Regions from separate parts of the Homo sapiens genome. Here region 1 is linked to region 2. The links are contacts of gene promoters, found by promoter capture Hi-C in human tissues and cell types (Jung and others, 2019). All regions are on one chromosome and are shown on one strand. Each heading gives the region's core, a stretch centred on a gene start or on the middle of the fragment in contact. The rest is flanking DNA. Distances are from core to core; before and after follow the strand shown. Region 1 overlaps LOC124900169 (a long non-coding RNA gene). Region 2 holds the start of RBM46 (RNA binding motif protein 46).

Region 1 (7,184 bases), core at 2,817-5,316, 47 kb before region 2:
TATCCTCAGTTCAGCTCTTCTGTAGTTCTGCTCTTAATCTATTATTTGAATCATCTAAAGATAATGAAGTCATTTTAAGCTATAGTCATTTGATAAGCAAATAATTGTAAAGTTTGTTAAAACAGCTCACATTCTTCAGCTATGCTTCTTGTTTCAGCAGATAACCTGCAGGCATCATTGATGAAATTAAAATTAGGGTGAATCATGAGCAGGAAAAGATATTACTTCAGAAGATTATAAGGTCAATCACGAGCAAAAATATATATATTTCAGTTCCTTTATATGTTCAATTTACTTAGATATTTGTTTATTTTTCCCTGTTTGTGGTAATCCCTAGTTTTTGCATTTTCTTGTAACTAGTTCATTCCTGTAAATGAAGAGTTTCTAATTCAGGAACTGCTTCTTTTTGCATACATTAATTTGTAAAATTTTTTTCCACATAGAATTTGTCTACCAAATAATGTATTTTACTGTTCCTTAGTATGCATTTTTGAAATGTACTTATTATCATTGTATCAAATACAATCTCATTTACCCAGAGCATTTAAATAGGAGTCACTGTTAAGAATGTGTGACCTGAAAGATAATAATTCTAATAATAGAATGCTCAAAACACCCAGTAATGTTCTATTTTGTGCATCAAAGCAAAATATTGGGCAAATGGTACTGGACTTCCAGATCAAAGATATTTCTAATTTAAAGTCATTAGTGGATGGACAAAAGAGCTTCAGCTTTAGAAAACTTATTCTTAGGACAAATGCAAAATTGAATCCCAGATAAAAGAATACACAAGATAGGCAGTATAAATAAACACCAGCGTGATAGACTGAATACCAGCATTAACAATGTGGTCATTGGAATGTGGAAGGGAGTAGGTAATTTTTAACAAATGTAGACCAACTATCTCACCAAATATATAACATACGAGACAAGAAGACTGGTATATATATACATATATATGTATATGTATATATATCTTCTTGTCTCATATATATATGATATATATATGTCTTCTTGTCCCATATATGTATATACACATATATATATACACATATATATACATATATACATATATATACACACACACACATATATATATCTCCTATAGGCATTCGATGAAGATGTTCTTTTTTCTGTAAAGCATATACTTAAAAACTTTGATAAACTGTGATTTGTTTAATATATTCACGTTTAGAGTATCTTTCTCTGATGCCCAAATCCAAGCTGTACTATTCTTGTCCTCATTTAAGAGTATCTTACTCTTCTTTTTAAATGTGCAGACATCTTATTATTTACTACAAGCAATTTGCATGTATAAGATTACATTACAAATACATTATTATAAGCTTACATTACATTGTATACATTATACATATAATGTATAAATATTTTTTGTATAAGAAGCAATCTAACAATTACTTACACAATTTTAATGCTTTCATAAGATTCTTGTACTAAATTTGGAGAAATGGAGAAATCTGAATATTTTATCTATCTCAGTCAGAGTTTAAAAAATGAATGGTACAGTGACCTAATACTTTGAGCTCAAATTAAATTCAAGGTTTGCTATAAAATTTTTTGCATTTTAGCCCAGAGGACATTTAACCACTTTCAATTAACTACACATATTTTCTCTTCTATAGTACATACTATGATAATGATATTACAGTGATTTTATGCAATAAAAATGTGATTACAAATTTTAACAAATTACTCTGAGCCTAAATTTTCCTAGTGTCTATCATTAATATGATTCTCTCACCAGCATCCTGCCACATGCCTAGTTTGATACTGAAGATTGACAGCACTAAGGGAGAACTTACTGTTATAACAAACTAGGAGAAAGAAAGATCAAGCTTTTGGGAACATGTATGTAAAATTTTCTACAATTATTAATGCTCTAAATAGGAATAGAATTAAAACTTGTTTTTCATGAAGATTTGTAATATAAGCAAATGACCTACTACTGTCACTCTGTCAATTTATTACACATCAATAACTTCCATAAATTTCCTGGTTACATCAAGCTTTGAGTCATCTACATGGGCTGGTAGATGACCTCACCAACTGGTTGGGTTTAGGATTTTACTTCTTCAGAATCTACTTTACAAACTAAAGTGGGTAGGAACAAACCCTTTTTGACTTCACTTCCAAATGTTTCTGGAGCTACACTTCTTAATCTCCTTCCTCCTTTCCTGTCTCAGAGGAACAGAAGTCCTTCCTCCTCATCAGTTCTAACTTCCATCTGCAGTTTTGATCCCATGGCTTCCCACCTCCTCTGGACTGATTTCCATCATTTATTTATTTATTTATTTAGCTGTGTTTTTCTTCTCCATTGAGTCTCCTTTTATGTACAAATATCCTCCTGTGTTCTCCATTTAAAACAAATTTAAAAATTAAAAGTAGGCCAGGTGCAGTGGCTCACACCTGTAACACCTCCCAGCACTTTGGGAGGCCAAAGGCAGGAAAATTGCTTGAGCTTAGGCATTTGTGACCAGCTGGGGAAACATAGTAAGATCCTGTCTCTACAAAAGAAAAAAAAAATACCTGGTTATGCATGCTTGTAGTCCCAGCTACTTGGAAGACTGAAGTGGGAGGATCACCTGAGCCTGGGAAGTCGAGGCTGCAGTGAGTCGAGATTGTGCCACTGCACTCCAGCCTGGGTAACACAGAGAGACCCCATCTCAAAAAAATAGCAATAAAAAAAACCATAAAAAATGTAAAAAGTGAAAATTGAAAAAGCAAATAACAATAAAAAATATTTTCCATTTTATCCTCTATTTCTCATTTTCTTTACTGCAAAACCTTTAGAAAAGCTTGTCTGTTCTTTGCCTAGCCCTTCCCTTGGCCTAACTCTCACTCCCTCAACCCTCAGCAGTCAGGTACTCATGAAACTATTTTCACACTAGTGCCTTCCTTATTGCCTAATCAAATGGTCTCTTGACGCTCTTGCTAACTCCTCTTTGTTTGACACGACTGAACATGCCTCTCCTAATAAGACTTTGTTCGGCCTGGCCATCTCCTACCTCTCATTCCTTCCCCAGCATCTTGGCTGACTCCTTAGTGCTGCCTTCCCTTTATGCAGGGCTCTATCCTGGCTGCCTTCTCACCACGTTCTATGTGTTATCCCTGGGCAGTTTTGTCTACTCCAAAGTAGTAGCACCCACACACTTCTGACTCCCAAATCTGTATCCTATGGCCATACTTCTCTCCAGAGATCTTGTTTAATCTATGTATCCACCTACTTAACATCCCAACTTGAAAAGCCATAGACTCCTGAAACTCAACATGTCCGAGAGTGAACTCATTTGTTCCTCCTGTAAAACCTGCTTTTTCTCCTACCTTCCCCATTCCTATGAAGGGTTTCACTCTTTGCCCAGAGTCATCCCTGGTTCCATTTTATTCTTCTTCCCACTTCTGCCACCACCACTACATCCAGTTGGTCACCAAAAATATCTTTAACTTTTTTACGTGCTCCTCCATCTTGTTTTCCATTACCTTAATCTGGCCCCTTTTCATCTTTTCCCTGGACTACTAAGTGACCTTTTAATTGGTCTCTGCTCCACAGTTGCTTTGGATCACATCATTCCCCTTCTTGAATGTCCCTCATGGCTATTGATTACCTACAGAATAAAGTCTGAGCTCCCCACATGGCACAGGAGGCCCTTCACAACCCGGGCCCCACAAGCTCCCAGTGTGGATTTGACCTCTACCCGTAGAGAGGTATAAGTCCTATATTCTAGTTGAGCTGGACTATTTAAATCTCATCTTTGTTCATGCTGCTTCCTTTGCCTGCCCTCTTGGTACCCACATGCCTACCCCTGTAGATCTAACAAACTCTGACTCCTCATGGTACTGCTTAGGAGCTACTCATTCTCTCACATTCCCTACCCCAAGTAGATGAATTTCTCACCTTTAGTGCATGATCCTTTTCCAACACATCACACAGAATTATGAAAGTTTATTGAGGTCTGTTTCCTCCTTACCAGGCTCTGTGTTCTATTAGGGAGGGGACTGCATTTCATTCATTGCTGTGTTTTGGAATGTCCACATGGAACTTGAGACTAAATGTTCAATAAATACCTGTTGAAGTGGATTCAAGCCTAGAATTCTCCCATCCCCATTTACAGAATTTCCTACTGCCCTACGGCTCTTTGTCACCTTTTCCAAATTTACATGAGAGTTATAGGCAATGAAGAGATTGCTTTATGTATTCTAGAAGAAAAATATACATAGCCATCATTTCTTGAGTTCTTACTAAGTGCTGCTTTTGTAATACATACATATTAATTCATTTAATCCTTATAACAACCTTATGAGGTAGGCTTCATCTTTATCATCATCCTCACCTTAGAGAGGAGGTAACTGAGACAGAGTAGTTAAGTAACTTGCCAAAGGTCACAAAGCTAGGAAGTAGAAGAGCCAGGATTTGAATCCAGGCAAGTTAGCTACAGAGTAGACATTCTTAACCATCATCCCACACTTTTTCCATTTGTAGTGTGCTGTCCCAGCCTACCCTTTTGTCTTCCTTATTTGGTAGCAACAACACATGTGTTTTCAGGAACAGATAAATTTATGTCAGTACGTTTAAATCTATTTGGCTATGTAAATATGGGAATGTTTTATTGATATAATTTTTATACATAATTTGTAATTTTAAAATAGTTAAATAAAATATGTATTGCTTTTGACTTTCTCAAAGAAGTGTAGAAGTTTTGAGTCAAAAGGGACTTTGAATTGGAGAGATGACTACTTACCCAAGGTAATAAATGTAAATTTTAAATAGGAATAATTATGGAATATAAGCCAAGAGAGTTAAAATTCTTAACTAATCCAAATAAGTGTAACTTACAATATAACTGTTAGATAAAATTGTAAGCAAAAACTTTATTGAATGCCCACTGTGAACTCAGAACACATTCTTATGAATATGTTGCCTTACTCAAGGAAGATCCATTTCTAGATAATATTGCTAAAATGAGTTATATAAAGTCACATTTTTGGTAAAGCACATAATTAAAATAGCTTCTTGACAATTAATCTTTCTTTTGTAATATCAGTAATTACTCTTTATTCTTCTTGAATTTGGTTTTCTGAAAAAAGAATAAACCTCTGCTAGACATTTTACATTGGAGGATTCATAAACGAGTAGAGAGAAATCTTCAAGATTTCTATAATTTCACCTATAAAGCAAAATACTTGGTTAAATTATAATTAAGCACCACGTACTTTTTTTAAAAAAGATGAAAAATAGAAGAATTGTTATTTGGAAACCAAATGGTGCAGCCCTAAAAGACATACAAGAAAATCCAGTCCCTTTCAAAAGAAATAAAAACAAATGTAAGAGGAGACATAATTTAAGGAAACAGAAAGAGAGTTTGGACTTTGTCATCTTATACTGGACTTGGCAGTGAGATGTGAGAATGACCATCTACAGCTATCACTAGATTGAATTCCAGGAAGGTTCAGAAGCTGAATTGACGATGAGAGTCACCAGCAGGGGAGTAATGGATAGTATCTATTGCTTTTTCTGTGATGAGTGGACCAGGGCACAAAGAGTTCAACTGATTTGCTTAGAATCATGAAGTAGGTTGTGCCAATATTCTGGGTGACACAGGACTAAAAGGAGGAAATCTAATAACAATCTAGAGGATTTCTAAGTCTGGCTAAACCTTTGGACCTGGTTCCAGGGCCATCCTCTACAGACCCCTCTATAGGTAAGGACCTGCTGAGTGTGGCCTGGCACCCTGAGGTTCACAGCATTATTGGTTTGGTTACTTGCTCTTCTGCAGGAGGCAGGTCACAGTTGGATAAAACTCATGATCTAAGAGACCCCAGGTCACTCTCCCTGCTGATTGTGACCCTGATTTCCTAGGTTCTAAGGTATTCAGGGATGATTTTTGAGATGCCATTTGGCCTCTGACAATTAGACCCATCATAATAATATCTGATATGGTTTGGCTGTGTCCCCACCCAAATCTAATCTTGAATTCCCAAGTGTTGTGGGAGGGACACAGTGGGAGGTAATTGAATCATGGGGGCAAGTCGTTCCCATGTTGTTCTTGTGATAGTGAATAAGTCTCACGAGATCTGATGGTTTTAAAAACAGGAGTTCTGCTGCACAAGTTCTCTGTCTTTGCCTGCTGTCATTCATGTAAGACATGACTTGCTCCTCCTTGCCTTCCACCATGATTGTGAGGCTTCCCCAGATATGTGGAACTGTAAGTCCAATTAAATCTCTTCCTTTGTAAATTGCCTAGTCTTGGGTATGTCTTTATCAAACATGCGAAAACGGACTAATACAATGTCCTTAGAGGATATCACAGAAAAAAACTAGAGCCCTCCCTTCCGGATTCCAACACCCTAGAATTAAATGAGATAAAAGAATGACAGATGCAAAAGAACAAGTGTAATGTATGTTACAACATGAAATAATTATGACCAAAGGGCAAATATTCTAGATTATTCTTTTTGAAAGTTAAACTAGGTGAACTTTAAAAATGCCTGTGATTTCTGGTTTAAACTGCTATGTAGATTAAAAACTTTATAGGTTTTTAATTTATCTTTAAAGAAAAAGGTTGGGTTGGCACTGTGGCTCACGCCTGTAATCCCAGCACTTTTGGAGGCCGAGGCAGGCGGATCACAAGGTCAAGAGATTGAGGCCATCCTGGCCAACATGGTGAAACCCTGTCTCTACTAAAAATACGAAAATTAGCTGGGCATGGTGGCGTATGCCTGTAGTCCCAGCTACACGGGAAGCTGAGGCAGGAGAATTGCTTGAACCCAGAAGGCAGATGTTGCAGTGAGCCGAGATCATGCCACTGCCCTCCAGCCTGGTGGCAGAGTGAGACTCCATCAAAAAAAAAAAAGAAAGAAAGAAAAGGTTACTGAATTTTAAAAAATTAATCCTATGTGATCCAATTTCAGTTCCACTCACATTCTTTATGAGTAAAGTCTGGATGTTAATAAAATGAAAGTAATTCTACGTAATCTGACTTAAAGGCAAGTCACTGTAGAGGGAAACCAGGATAAAAATAAGTGTACTTAAGTCAAGTGTGTAGTTTGTACCTACAGAGGCAAACACAGGCAGCTTGGTTCTTAAGAGAGCTGCCCACTTGGAGTTCTCCCAATTAAGAAGTTGGAGACAAAAATCCATTTTTTTTTCTATAGTTGTATGAGACTTT
Region 2 (6,384 bases), core at 1,060-3,559:
ACAGTCACTATTATTTCTCTTTCTGGTGTTTGCAGAGATCCCCTTCTATTTTCTCCCTTGTATGCCAAGTATCTTTCGACACTTCTTTTTAGTCACAAACACCTTTACATTGCTTATCATCTTCCTTCTTACTCATTTGGGTCACCTTTTCCCATAAGCTCAAATAATCTTAAAACAAATCCAATTTGGAATCTGTTACTGAAGAATTCTAGCTGATAAAAGTGTTTTGGATCTCTTTCTCTGGGAGCCTTGAGAAATAAAGTTAAAGGTCATTTCTTTAATTGTACATGCAGACAATAGTTTTTATAGCATTTGAAAAGTATACCTATTAATAAACTTTAGGATAATAAAAACTTAGACAAAATCTAACCAAAATGACATACAATGTTAAGTATGGGAAGGGTCTTTAAACAACACTGTCTCATCTATGGCAAGGTTCTATGGTCTGACTGTAATGCCTATTGAGAAGCCCTTGTCTATTTGGTTTTCTTTATACTTGGGGAGAAAAAAGACAAAAAGGGAAACAAGAAAACCAGCAATGTTCAACAACCTTCCAGGCTATTTCCAAGAACAATCTTTGTACCTCACAACATCTCCACCTAGTGACTCCTTAAGGATCTTACAGCCATTCCTAGAAATTACTTGTTTTAAATTGCCACTAATATGCCTAACCTCATTTCAGATAATTTAACCTTAAACACATGTATTTAGAATTAATTACTAGGAATTGAGAAGGTACCGACATGAAAATGAAGAATGAGGAGAATCTTTTTCTGGAGAAATAAAAGAGCAGCAAAAAATAGTAATCAATATAACAATCACAGTTCCCGAGGTACAGAATTGGTGACATGTCAAACAAAGCCAACTAGATCTATCAGTCTAGGTTTTCTAGTTGCTTTATTTTGAATGCATACATCTTATATAAAATGACACTTGTATTCATTGACTAAAGGGCAGACGGCTTACAAAAAATATTTGTTGAGCTTCCAGTGTGCATCAAGTACTATGCCAAGTTTTCTACTTGTTTCTGGACGTATTTTGAGACAGTATAGTATAGCAATTATGTCTGTAGGTTTCAAACTGGAGCCACTTACTTGCTATATGACTTTGCCCAAACTACTTAAGGTTTCTGCATCTGTTTCCCCGTCTGCAAAGTAGGGCTAGTAACTTTACCAAAGTTACTGTGAGAATTAAATGAAAATATGAAAAGTCCTTAGGATTGTTTCTGGCATCTGGCTCAATATTTGGTAATATCATATATTATTTTATTCTCACAATCCCCACTTTAAACAGGGTCTGTCTGGCTCCAAAGTCCCTGCTAATTCCTCACTGTTGTAGTATATTTAAAAATTAAAAATATACTTTAACAAAATTTAAATTGGTAGACATTCATTAGTTCCTTGAATATATGGAGAAAATACATTAGGAGTTAATGTGGAAGAAATCACCTTGAGGTTGGGAATAAGGAGATCTGTGTTACTCGGTGAATATTCTGGGCATGAAGTTCCTTGTTAATTAGAGAATCAACATGAGCTAGGTTCTTTATTGTCTAATATTCCATGAATCTAATATTATCTATACATAAATAGTTGGTTCCTAAAGGTGGTTTTTTCTTTCCTTGTCTGCATTTAATTTCGAGCTGTCTTCAAAGGAAGCAAAACTGAAGTTATGCATACCGAATGCCAAACAACCCTATCTGTGAAAGTTGGTTTTACAAGAGCATAGAACCCAGTTCGGCAGTTCGCCTCTGCCAAATGTCCCTGCAAGCTGATTAGTGGTAGCGTCAAGCCTATCGCTAGTTCTCCTCATCTAACCCATTTTCTTAGTCATTGTCATTTAAACCACTTATACTTTATACTTCTAGTCCTATTTGCAAATCCATCTTTTAGCTTTATAACCCACCTCCCCCTAGCCCTTAATTTCAAAGGTCCACCGGATATATGTGGTTGTTTTGCGCCAAACTAGCAGTTTACAAGAAAACTACATCAAACAAGAAAAAGAACCATTACGATGCATCTATGTTTTCCCTTAAGTGCGGAATTTCACACTGCAGCCCTCGTCTTCAAACACCTAAACAATGCACCTAGGACCTTCATTTATTATTCCGTGCCCACCCACACCCTAAAAATCGCTCTCTTCACCCCAATTGCTCGAAATGCCTGTCACTCCAAGCACTTTGACTAGCCCAAGAGCCTCATTTAAACTTTAGCCCCACTCTCTCCTCCTCGCCCCGCCCCGAAGCTAATCCCTGATTGGATGAGGCACCACTCCTCGTGGGGCTGCTTAGGCCACCGCGCGCGCTGCGCGCTGGGAAACGAGTGGAGACACGAGGACCAGCGCGAGCGGTCCCGGTGGGCTACCCTCCCCCTGCGACGACCCCCCCTCGCTCTGACCGACTGGTCCCCTAAACGGTGGCGGCGGTTTTTGGTCGTTGGGCCCCGGGATTTAGGACCAACATTTGAAGACCCGAAGGGGTGAGGAGGGGAAAGGGGAAACGGGGTCACTACCAGACCACTGCTAACGGCTGGATAGTGCCCGGCTCACTCTCACGCCGAATACACAGTGGGGGCTGGCGGCGGTGGCTGCGGGGTTCACCCTCGTCCTTCCCCAGCCCCGTCGAGCAGTGGGAGGGCAAGTGTCCGAGACGCTGCTTCCTGCCCCGGCAGCATCCGGCCAGAAGGCGCCCTCGCCGTCACCCAGGCGCTGCATGGTGAGGGCCCAGCGGCCAGTCTCTTTGGGGCGTCTGGCGGCCTCTTCCGCCCCGCGGCGCCCTGCGCTCTCCGCCTTATTTCCGCTCTCCCCCGCTGCCTTCCGGCCGCTTCCCACCTGTGCTGCATTTCGTGTTATTTTCCTGACACGCTTACGCCGACGACCAACGACCGCTGCAGGCCCGGGCCGCTGCCTGGCCGTTGTAGGGTCCGCGCGTCCCCTGGAGGCTTTGGACGCCGTCTGGGGCGTCCCGACGGCTGGGTGAGATTCAGCAGTCTGGTTTCAGAATTGAATTCAGGCTGGGTGAGCTTTAGCGGGCTCCTAGTCGTTTGCGTGGAGTTCTAGCCGGGACTGAGCCTCGAACTTTACTTTGCCTTTGTCTCCCTGTTTCTTCCCCGAGTACCTCGTGTGTGCTGGGCTGTGGGCAGTGGGAGGCCGCGGGTGCACAGGGAAGATAGCTCGCCTCTCCCCCGACACACGGACGGCAGCACACGTCGTGGCACCGCCTTTGTTTCCTAACATCTGGTAGTTTTTAAACCCCTAATTTAAAAATGTTTCTTTGGAGCTGCTGGAAAAACCACAGAACCAGCGGCATTTAATCCTGGCGTTGATATTCTGAGATATTGCGAAGCTGCTTGATTTATTTGGGCACCAGTTTTCTCCTATGTAAATTTAGCTTAGGTAATATTTAAGTTCTTTAAGCTTTAACTGTCTTTACATTCTTGATAAATTCCCCGTAACCTTTATGTTATGTGGTAATCCTAATATAGGCAAATATCAAAGAGGAAATATCATAAGGAGTTTTTTTGTTTTGTTTTTTGTTTTGTTTTGAGACGGAGTCTCGCTCTGTCTCCCAGGCGGGAGAGCAGTGGCAGGATCTCGGCTGACTGCAACTTCCGCCTACCGGGTTCAAGCGATTCTCCTGCCTCAAACTCTCGGGAGTAGCTGGGACTACAGGCGCGCGCCACCACGCACAGCTGATTTTTGTATTAGTAGAGACAGGGTTTCACCATGTTGGCCAGGATGGTCTCGATCTCTGGACCTCATGATCCACCCGCTTCGGCCTCCCCAAGTGCTGGGATTACAGGCGTGAGCCATCGCCGCCGAGCTTTTTAAGTCTTGGCTTCTCTTAAAAATTGGCCTGATTTTGTGTTTGAGAATGGCGTTATAACCAGGAAGCAGGATATGTTGCGTGTATAAGGAGAATAACATATAAAGGACATGTTCAAGGGTCTGTAGAATTTTGCTTATTTAAATAATGGGAAGATATTTTCGTTTCAAGAATCACCACGATGTATATACAGTTTGACAGACTTCCATTTGGATCTTTTCAGAATTGAATCTCCTTATGGGGGTCTAATAATAGACTTGTTTTCAGGGCACACGTTTAAAACATTCTACTTTAAACTTTGTTTGCATCTGTCTGCATTTGTTTGCATTGTTAATAAAATTTGTTTGCATCTTTATAGACATAAAGATGACAGTGCTGCCTGCAATCACTAAATATTAATGCTTTCTGCTTAAGGCACTGCTTTGATTGCTGATTTTCACTTAAGAGGTTGGAGTAATGTACTTGAATATTATTGCCAAATATAATACATATCAACACTTAAAATATATGCATTACTGGATATATTATGAAACAAGAATTATTAATAACGAGAACAAACCCAGTTTATGGACTGAAATTAAGTCTCAGGTTTAATGGTGTTATTTTATTGTTAGGAGAAGGAAGACATGTCAGTTTAAGTAGAGTTTGTGACTACAAATCAAGTAATTGCTGTAAAAATTGTCCAGATTTGCATATTAATGCCGAATGTTATTTCTCATTTTACTACCCGATGATTGATGAGGCAAGAAAATGTGATCTCTATGTTCAAATTGGTAACAGATTTAAAATAACAGATTATGAAGGACCTTGTGTAAGGAATGGTGTACTTAATTTGGACAAGAATATGTAGATATCTTTATCCTGAATTCAAACAGCATATACACCTTTGTGTTCAAAGCAGTATTTTTTAAAAGTATTAGTTACAGTTTTTTTAAATAGTTCAATTTTTAAGTCATTCAGAATTTAAACTTAATATTAAAACTTTTATCCATTATATATTTAACTTCTAGCAATAAAATGTGCTCTCATTCTTTAATAAAAACAACTTAAAATGGAATTGAACTGATCCATCTGTACACTTATTTCGAAATAATTTTAGACTTCCATGTCCACACACTTTTGATTAACTCTTCTCGTTTTCCAAGAACGAGAAGTGTAGTGGCTGTAGTGCAGTCTGTCACTAAAATGAATTGCTGCTTAAAAACAAACAGAAAACCTCCATTGACCTGGCAACCATTGACCTGGCAACCATGGTTTCCATGTACCATACTCAATGACAACAGTGCTAACAAATCAGGAGTTTAGTACCATGTAATTCAAGAAATGTCATAAACATTTAATGTGCCCCTATAAAGGCACGCTTTGATATTCTTAATTTTTTTCATTATTACATTGAGTTTTTAAAACCCACAGTAAGATTATATAATGTTCTCTTTCACAGCTTTCTAAATTTTTACAGTAACTTGGAAGATGAAGTTTCAGTTGAAGTAGTTTTAATACAGCTGACACAGTTCCTTTAAATAATTTTCATTAATGTTTTGCTTAAATTGTGCTTGTCTTTTTTCATTAATATACTTTCTATTTTTGAATGGCAGTACAAATTTGAAAATACATATTTTTGATAATTGTTAAGAAGGTTAAAATTAAAGGAGATATAGTTAGCACTTAAAGATAAAGGCTTGATTCACATTGTTACTTGAATAGCTTGTGATTTGCTATCCTGTCTTGGCCTTTTGCTTCATACCTTAGAGAGGTTTTTTCCTTCTATTTTTTCTTTTGAAAGTGAGCTAGAGAGGAATCTTTGAAAGTCTACAGTTTAGGGAAAAAAATACATATCTGAAAGCTAGAGTTAAATATGGCACAACTTTTAATTTCTCATTCCCACTTTGTCTGCAAAACCATTTTTGACATTCTACTCAGGATCCCTCCTTCTCTTACTTGGATTACTTGGGTCAGCAGGGTAAGGAAATAAGTTTTTAGAACGCTTTGTAGTGTGACTTCACACCTGAAAGTGGCAGAGGACAAATTAAGTCTGGAAGCCTCAATTGGTATGTCAGTTTTGCTTTAATGTATAGGACAGATGTGCTTTCTTGGATATTTAGGTAACAGGTTGATTCTGGAGTATTTTAGAATGAATGTATTGTATGCTTGTTTTAGATTTGATTATATTTCTCTGGCTATTCTTGAATTTTGCCTCTTTTAGAAATAAACTTTTGTTAAATTAATATGTTAAAGTTAGGTAATTTTGAACTTTCTTGTGAATTATACACGTGCATATATTTTGTTTTGGAGGCTTTGAGATAAGGGTTTTTTTTTCTAAAGAGAATATAGGATTGGTGACTCTTCAGTGTGTCTTTTACTTCTGTAATTTCAAGCTTTCATAATATTTTGATTGAGATTTCTTGAGATGTACAAAGTCTAGCATATGTTTCTAGTCATTATCTAGTAAAAGGAGCCTTTAATGTGTATGGACTGGCATGTTATTTCATTGTAAGAACCTAAATAATCTCTTTAAAAATAGAACTTTAGAGACATGAATTAACCCAAAAAATAGGTCTGTAAGG

Evidence for each region. The method cuts DNA at HindIII sites, captures the fragments that hold promoters and counts their contacts. A contact is called where the count stands out against the background at its distance.
Region 1: a fragment that was not itself captured here is called in contact with the fragment with the promoter of RBM46 in region 2 in 3 of the 25 tissues and cell types used here (heart left ventricle, ovary and thymus).

Annotation. Positions count from the first base shown.
Region 1 is chr4:154,729,918-154,737,101 of GRCh38, forward strand. It overlaps LOC124900169 (a long non-coding RNA gene), which reads left to right. Exons shown (of 6, transcript XR_007058343.1): 5 at 1,766-1,869; 6 at 6,110-6,218. Among named protein-coding and RNA genes, the nearest start is that of LRAT, 10 kb to the right of the region's middle. The HindIII fragment of the contact is 4,930 bases long and covers 1,602-6,531 here.
Region 2 is chr4:154,778,963-154,785,346 of GRCh38, forward strand. RBM46 (RNA binding motif protein 46) reads left to right here and starts at 2,310. Exons shown (of 5, transcript NM_144979.5): 1 at 2,310-2,474. It overlaps LOC105377500 (a long non-coding RNA gene), which reads right to left and starts at 2,911. Exons shown (of 4, transcript NR_188451.1): 1 at 2,827-2,911. The HindIII fragment of the contact is 6,453 bases long and covers 1-4,803 here.